3 separate regions of the Homo sapiens genome follow, and regions 1 and 3 are each linked to region 2. Evidence: promoter capture Hi-C in human tissues and cell types (Jung and others, 2019). All regions are on one chromosome and are shown on one strand. The core of a region is centred on a gene start or on the middle of the fragment in contact, and the rest is flanking DNA. Distances in the headings are between cores, read along the strand shown.

Evidence for each region. Contacts are between HindIII fragments. The study calls those that stand out against the background at their distance.
Region 1: a fragment that was not itself captured here is called in contact with the fragment with the promoter of PRICKLE4 in region 2 in 1 of the 25 tissues and cell types used here (mesenchymal stem cells).
Region 3: a fragment that was not itself captured here is called in contact with the fragment with the promoter of PRICKLE4 in region 2 in 1 of the 25 tissues and cell types used here (lymphoblastoid cells).

What each region holds. Positions count from the first base shown.
Region 1 is chr6:41,415,789-41,418,488 of GRCh38, forward strand. No RefSeq gene overlaps it. Among named protein-coding and RNA genes, the nearest start is that of NCR2, 82 kb to the left of the region's middle. The HindIII fragment of the contact is 3,118 bases long and covers 1-2,700 here.
Region 2 is chr6:41,779,428-41,782,127 of GRCh38, forward strand. PRICKLE4 (prickle planar cell polarity protein 4) reads left to right here and starts at 1,355. Exons shown (of 8, transcript NM_013397.6): 1 at 1,355-1,399; 2 at 1,923-2,093. It overlaps FRS3 (fibroblast growth factor receptor substrate 3), which reads right to left and starts at 473. Exons shown (of 7, transcript NM_006653.5): 1 at 389-473. RefSeq lists silencers at 199-348, 379-788, 1,069-1,138. The HindIII fragment of the contact is 3,550 bases long and covers 1-2,491 here.
Region 3 is chr6:42,108,871-42,111,570 of GRCh38, forward strand. It overlaps C6orf132 (chromosome 6 open reading frame 132), which reads right to left. Exons shown (of 5, transcript NM_001164446.3): 3 at 1,346-1,421. Among named protein-coding and RNA genes, the nearest start is that of C6orf132, 32 kb to the right of the region's middle. The HindIII fragment of the contact is 5,795 bases long and covers 1-2,700 here.

The DNA of each region.
Region 1 (2,700 bases), core at 26-2,525, 360 kb before region 2:
GGACCACATGTGCCTGGGTGCCTGGACCTGTGTCCTGTGTCCTGTCCCTGTGCTGAACACCCGGGTGTGCACGTGGAGGTAGGGAAGGTGTGTGCAGGGGAATTGTATATACTCACACTATATCAATATCTGGACATATCTCACACTGGATCTGGAAAGCCACATCAGAGTGTGTGTGTGTGTGTGTGTGTGTGTGTGAGAGAGAGAGAGAGAGAGAGAGAATATACAAGTGAGATGAGGGGAAGACTGGGAAACCACGGGGGAGAAAAAAGAAAGAATAGTTGAAAGGGCAGAGAGGGACAGAGTTAATACGCAGAATAATGAGAGTGACAATCATAACAATAATAATAACAAGAATAACACAAACCTTGCCTTTTTTTTTTTTTCCAAGCTGAATGTGAGCTGGAGCAGGGCTGAGGGGATTAATCTCTTAAAAAATAAGTGCCGAGTGAGGAGACAGGCAGTGATTAAGGTTTTAACTGATCAGTCTGCATCTGACAGTGAACCAGCTATTATCTTAACGGAATCAAACGAACATTCAAAGCTGTGCTCAGCCCCAAACATGAAAGGAGATGTCATCTGCTGGCAGCTGGCAAGCCGCAGGGGGAGCTGAAGGGGAGAGAGGAATGGAGGGAGCGGAGGAGAGACAGAGGGGGAAAGAAGAGAGTCACGGTGAAGGACACAGGAAGGTGGAGGAAAGGAGGGCATGACAGGCTCCTGCGGCCCCGTTCCCTCCACCCACCAGACACACACACCATGTCCCAGTCCCCCCAGTACCCCACCCGACCAGATCATAGGTGCTAAAGCACAGGTCTGAGATTCAGTCACTCCCCTGCTCAGAAACCTTCATTGGCTCCCCACTTCCTGAAGGATAAAGACAGGACATGATGAAGGCAGGGGCCCAAGGGAGGAGGCTGTGAGGCTGTGAGGCTCAGGCTGGAGTCTTGTTTCCTGCGGTGCCTCAACCAGGACCCCTGCTCCTCTCCTCCGGCTCCAGCACAACGAAGCCTCCTTCATTAAGTAAGCAGTTCCTTAATGAATAAAGGAAATGGGATAAGGAAAAAGAAACAAGAAGAAAAACAGACAGAGGTGCTTTTGCCAGGCATTTAGACTGATTTTCCCGTTTAATTCTCCCAACCTCCAGAAATGAAGGTTATTCCAGTCTTTGTCAGAGAGGTGGAGCATCTTGCTGCAGATCCCACAGCTTGAAAGAGGCAGAACTGGGATTTGAACCCCGGCTTCTCTGACTCCAGTTTCTCTGCTCTTCTCACCTAAAAAAAAGTGGGACGGAAGAGCAGACAACAGGAAGAGAAGGGGCAAACCAGAAAAGAGCACCGAGGGAGCTCGTTCTTCTGGTACTTTATCCCTGAACATTAAGCCAAAGATGTCCCTTCCTGTCCCACTCTTCCAAAGCAAAGGCACTGGGTAAGGGGGACTCTAGAATAAGCTTGTCCCTGGGCCTGGACCAGCACCTAGAGCATTCAGTATTTGTTGGAAGAGGGAAGGAGGGGAGGGTGTGGTCCCAGGGCAAGTCCCAGCAGGGGTGGAACAGAGAAAGTTACCTGCTCTGTGGCCATCCCACCCCTCTCCAGGACCCTCAGACAGAGGAATACCCAGCCCTGAGGCTGTGTGTGAGTGTGTGAGCTCAGGGGAGAGAGAAAGGAAAAAGAAGTGGAAAAGGAAAGATTTAGAAAGGGAGGGAAAAAAAGGAACATATCTGGAAAATTAGAAAAGTTGACTCACATACAAGGGCCCTGTGACAATGTATTTGTGAATGTGGAGCTGACCCTCTAACCCCACTTCCCCTCTCTTACTGACTCTCTCACCCACTTGAGGAGACAGCTGTTCCTCAAAGAAAATAGGCATATGGTCCTCCGTCTTTCCTCTTTGTCACACACTCTCAGCCTCTCAGCCTCTCTCTCTCTTTCTCTCTCTCTCTCTCTCTCACTCACACACACACACACACACACACACACACACACACACAGAGTCAGTGCTGGGTCCCTGCTCACAATCTGCCACTCCAGGCCCATAGCCCGGCTTGGGCCACAGCCAAGCTTCCAGAATTGCTCCTTTTGGTCCAGGTAAGACCAGGCAGGATCCAGTCCAGGCTCTGGCTGTGGAGCTGGCCCTGTGCTTCCCTGGTGCCTTGCCCCTCCCTGAATACAGACTTCAAGGCTGGCCCAGAAGGGAGGAAGCCAGGGCAGAAGCCAGCAGCCAGCCATGGTGGGTCAGATGGGCAGGAGGCAAGGGCTCCCCTAGAGCTTGCGGTAATTCCCTCTCCAGGCTGCCAGTCCCTGTACTTTCCCTCTGCCTCCATTCTGGTTCAGGACATCCCCATTTCATGGCTGAATTGTGACAACAGCCTCCTAAACTGTCTCCCTCTCTTTAACCCACTTGCACACCACTACCAGGAGTCTCTTTCTAAGACATAGCCCAGATGGCATCCTTCCCTTGTCAGAAACCATCAATAGCTTCCCTTTGCCTGGAAGGATCAAGTCCAGATTGCTAAAGCTGGACTCAAAGTCTCCCGCAGTCTGCCCCTCACTCTCCTCTCTACCTTCGCTCCTGCTACCCCTACCATCCTCACCACCATCACCCCTGCCACCCTCTAGAAACATCTCCTCCTGTGCAAAGCGGCTCTCTGTCCCTGAGCATGACACGTCCGTCTTCCTACTTTACACATGCAGTCACTGTTTT
Region 2 (2,700 bases), core at 105-2,604:
GGGCAGTGGAAGCATTTGGGGGCATCCAAGAGAAATGGTGGGTCCGTGGGCATAGCAGGAGATTTGTTGAGTGAATGAGGGGGTTCTGAGGGCTCCAGGAGATGCGATGATGTGTCCAGGGCGGAGAGGGTAGAGGTGGGTTGGGGGAGCCAGAGGCTGCAGGACAGGCTACAGGACTGTCAAGGGGAATTTCTACATGCCCGTAAGGAATGAGGAGGTCTGGGTGCGCGCTGTCCCCGGATCCCCGCCCCCAGCCCCGGTGCTCCGCCGCCTGCCCGCCCGCCCGGGGCTTCCTAGGGAGGGAGTGGAGACTGCGGCGCGGCGCGGCGCGGCGCGGCGCGGCCTCGGTGAAGCCGCCTCGTCCCCGCCCCGCCGCGCCCCGACTCACATCGCCCCGCGGCCCGGGCGGCGCCGGGCCCCGCTCCCGGGTCCCGCTGCAGCAGCCGCCGCCCGCCCGGAGCTAAGGCCTCCCCGCCCCGCCCCGCCCCGCGGCCGCGGGGTCGGAGGTCACCGGCAGCACCAACGAGACGCTGCGGGCTGGCGGACCCGAGCGGGGGCGACCGGCACGCAGCCTAGAAGGTCCCTTTGGAGGACTTTGCAGTCGGGAGCAGTGAGCATGCGCAGACGCCAGAGGGCGCTCCTGGCCAGGGGCTGAGCAAGCCCGGAGGGGACAGGGCGGAGCCTGCGGCGGAGGCGGGGCGCGGAGGCGGGGCTGAGGACACCAAAGTTGGGGGTGGTCCGGGGAGCGGAAAGGGGACGGAGGGTTGGGCGAGAAACGAAGGGAAGGGGAGAGGGTCTGAAGGGACCTGAAAGGAGAAGGGCAAGACGATGGAACCTGGAAGAGGGTTGAGGGGAGGGGAAGGGGCCAGGGGGACCACTGGGGACAAGGGGGAGAGAACTGAAGGGAAACACGCGGAGGAGCGGGGCTGGGAGACCACAGGGAGAGTTTGGGGAGACCTGGGAACTGCGGAGAGACAGGGCTGCGGGCCCGGCGAGGCGTTTCCATTCAGCGAATGGTTGAAAACCCAGCGTAAACGCGGCTCCCGGCGTCTGCTGGATGCCTGCCGGGCGCAGTCCGAGCCAGAGAGCCCTTGCACCTGCATGGCAGAGGCCATGGAGCCCGCACATTTCCACCCTGAGATCCCATAAATGTGGTTTTGTTTTCCTTTTTTTTTTCCTCCCCCCAATCTGCAGCTCCAGGCCCCTCCCTGAGCCGCCCCTCTCCACCAGCCGGGGAGGGGCGGGCGGGGGCCGCTGGGGCGTGGGAGAGGAAGGGCCGCGCTATTAGGGCGGGCGGGGGCGGACGGGGGCGGGCGCTGAAGCCTTGGGGTGGGGACCGGGTGAGGGGCCTGACGGCAGAGTCGGTCCAGAACTGCCCGGACAGCGACGCACAGCGAGGGTGAGACCCCAGCGGAGTCCTGGTCCCCTCCCCTAAAATCCCAGCAGCCAGACCGGGAACCCCAGCGGACTCGGGAAACACCGCGTCCCAGCCCCGGAGGCGGGCCCGCCAAGTTCCAGAAAAACTCTGGGGATCTATCGAGAGGGCAGTTGGCGGGACTGGGCACTCCCCTTCCTTCTCCCTCCCACTGTCCCCAGAAATCTTCCCATCCCTCCACCTCCCCAAGCCCTAAGTCCTCTCGGGCTCTGCCCTTCAGGGCAGCGGGTGTTGGGGATGTCCAGCTCCTGAGCCCTCTTGCACGGAGGCTCTGCACGGAGGCAAGACAAGGGGTTCAGCTCTGTCCCTTATCTGAGGTGGGAGGGGGAAGGGAATTATGGAAGGAATCCAGCTGGCCTGTTAGTAAGGGTGTTCCAGTGCTAGGTGGAGGTGGAGTTTGGCTGCCTTTGGGGAGATTGGAAGGGTGAGGAATAGAGGCCTGATTTCTGAGTGTTGTTTCTGTGTTGGACAATTCTATGCAAACTAGAGCCAAAATGGAAGAGGGTGCAAGTCCCCTCCTGGGGCCCCAGACGCCCCCTCCTTTCTTGCTGCCTGGAGCAGGGGCAGTGCTGTTAGTGGCTACTCCTGGTGTGAACAGCCCATCCTGGCCACCTTCCACAGGAAACCTGACCTGAAGGACAGAAGAGGAAGGAAGCAGGTGGGTGTGAAGCCAGGAAGGAGGGAAGGGTGGCACAGGACATTTGAAGTGGGAGTGGAGGGGCGGTGCTGAGGAGGGTTCAGTGCTGGGAAGCAATATTAACTGTTACAGTCCAAACCCTCACCTCAACCCCAGTACGAATCCCTGGCCCAGTCTTAGAGGCCAGGGATTTGATGATGACCCTCCTGTGCCCAGCTACTTTCAGAATCTATCCCAGCTCTCAGAAGCCAGGTCCCCCTAAGGCTTCCCTTAGCCTCTGGTATGATCTTGGGCAAGTTAATTAACTTGTTTCAACTGTCAAGTGGAATGAAAGAGATTACCTCATAAGATTATTGTGAGGATGGACTATATTATGTAATATTCTAGAAGAGTCCTTGGCACAGAGTAAATATTATTAAAAAGTTTGCTCTGGTTATTTTTTTCTCCAGGGTTTTTGTATGTCTGTCCCGAGCTCTGATTGATCCCATTCTACCTGGTTTCATCTTTGTCTTACCCACTATGAGCTCCTTGAGGGCGGGGCTCATCTCTTCTCTACATTAATAGTCGCTTTTTTTTTTTTTTTTTTGAGACGGAGTCTCACTCTGTTGCCCAGGCTGGAGTGCAGTGG
Region 3 (2,700 bases), core at 43-2,542, 330 kb after region 2:
GCTGCCTGACTTCAAACTGAAGAAACCAAGAGTGGGGAAGGGGAAAACTAACATTCACTGAGCACCCAACTGTCAGGCAGGACTTAGGAGCTGGGGTACAGCAGCAAAAAAACCAACAAAACAAAAAACAGACAAACACTGGTCCTCCTAGGGAGCTTACGCTTGAACGGGACAATGAACATAATGTGTGAGTACATTATTATCACATTAGAGGATGAGTGCGATGGGAAAAAACACCAGCAGGGGAGGGGTGCAGCAGGTGCAATTTAAATAGGGCAGTCCGGCCGGGTGCGGTGGCTCACACCTGTAATCCGAGCACTTTAGGAGGCTGAGGCAGGTGGATCACGAGGTCAAGAGATAGAGACCATCCTGGCCAACATGGTGAAACACTGTCTCTACTAAAAATACAAAAATTAGCTGGGCATGGTGGTGTGCACCTATGGTCCCAGCTACTCAGAGGCTGAGGTGGGAGAACTGCTTGAACCCGGGAGGCAGAGGTTGCAGTGAGCTGAGATCACACCACTGCCCTCCAGCCTGGCAACAGAGCGAGACTCCATCTCAAATAAATAAATAAATAAATAAATAAAGCAGTCTGAGAAGGCCTCGCAGAGAAGGTGACATTTGAGCAAAGAAGGGAGGAGTGAGGGAGACGGCCACACAGATGCCTCGCAGAAGAGCATTCTAACCTGAGAGGTCTGCAGTGCAAAGACCCCAAGGCGGAAATGTGCCTGGGGTATTTCAGGAGCAACAGGAGATGCTGTGGCCGGGGCAGTGTGGGAGGGGAAAGCAAGCAAGCAAAGTGGCCAGACTCCGGTCAGACTCCAGCAGTCCTTGCAAGAACCTTTTCTCTGAGTGACACGGGAAGCCATTAGTGAGTTTGAAGCACCTCTGAGAGGTGTGACAGACATGACATACATCCCATCCACCACTTCATTTACTCCTCCAAACTGAACTGTTGTTCCCATCGTTCGTTGGAAGATACAGAGGTAGGAGGGGTGAAGTGTCTTGCCCAAGGGAGCAAAGTGAATATGTGGGGAGCTGGGATTCAAAGCCAGGCCCTTCTTCCACTTTATGCTGCACTTGTTCCTGCTCTGGCTTTGTCCCCTTGCCATCCTTCCCCCGCCAGAAAGGGGCCTTCACTGACCGTGGCTCTCCTCAACTCCCAGCCCCACTGCCCTAGCCCACTGCGGCCAGTAATCAAGATGACTGAGGATGGCGAGAGTGGCTGTGCCTGAGGACTCTGGCTTTGTCACCAGCTGTGAAGATGAGCAGATGCTTAGCTTTTGAACTCAGGGCCCTAGGAGGAAAGAAAGATGGACAAGCCCCAAGCCCAGGGTTCACTTACCTGTCACTTCTTTGTCTGCAAAATCATCTGGAACCGAGGGGGTGGGCACAGCCAGCCCATGGTTTTCCTGGGCATTCTGAAAGAGACCAGAAAGAAATCAGGGGACAGGGAAAGATGGACAGATAATTCTCAAACTGCTGCTCTTTGAGGCCATTTTACTGCTTGAAAATCTGCAGTGACGGTCATGGTTGCATAACCTTGTGCATATACCAAAATATAAAAGGCTGATTTTAAAAAGTGAATCTTGTGGTACAGTCAACCAATCATCACTATTTGTCATAGTTATGTTCTATAAAGTTGCAATGAACATAGTATTAGTAAATACTGACCCGTTGCTCCTAGGGGAAATACAGGGTTAGGTTCCTATGAGCCTCTGGTCACAAGATTTTTGTCAACTGATCAATACATAACCATAACCTTGTTTTAGCTGTGTTTCTGCTTAAAGACATTTTAATATATTTTGTTGGTTGGTTAACATTGAACTCATGGCCGATAGCACTATAACACATGACACTAAACAGAAAAAGACACTTGTTTTTGTATGACAGCTAAAACAAGAAGGCATAGAATCCTCTTGTTCAGCTGGGAACATGTGCATTGAGCAACTCAAAATTTTCACTGCTCTGTGCATGTCTGCAAATGACCACAGAAGCAACACAAGCATTGATTCTGGGGTTACAAATACGTTTTAGCCACTAAGCAAATTTGCAAATACAGAATCCACAAATAGGGAGGATTGACTGTATATGAATTCCATCTCGATGAAAAAGACAAAACAAACAAATAGAATCTGCATTGACTCTCCATGGAGGTCCACAGGTGAAAAGCCAAACTCCTCAGCCTGGCCTCCTGTGTGTTCTTAGTTTTCATTAGGTGTTTACAGAAAAATAAAAAGTGATGAACTTGAATTTTTTTTTGTTTTAATTGAGACAGGGTTTTATTCTGTCACCTAAGCTGGAGTGCAGTGGTGCAATCATGGCTCACTGCAGCCTCCATCTCGTGGCTCAAGCAATCTTCCCATCTGTAGCTGGGACTACAGATGTGTGCCACCATTCCTGGCTAATTTTTTTTTTTTTTTTTTTTGAGATGGAGTCTTGCTCTGTCACCCAGGCTGGAGTGTAATGGCATGATCTCTGCTCACCACAACCTCTGCCTCCTGGGTTCAAGCAATTCTCCTGCCTCAGCCTCCCGAGTAGCTGGGATTACAGGGGCGTGCACCACCATGCCCAGCTAATTTTTTGTATTTTTAGTAGAGACGGGGTTTCACCATGTTGGCCAGGCTGGTCCTGAACTCCTGACCTCGTGATCTGCCCACCTCTGCCTCCCAAAGTGCTGGGATTACAGGTGTGAGCCAC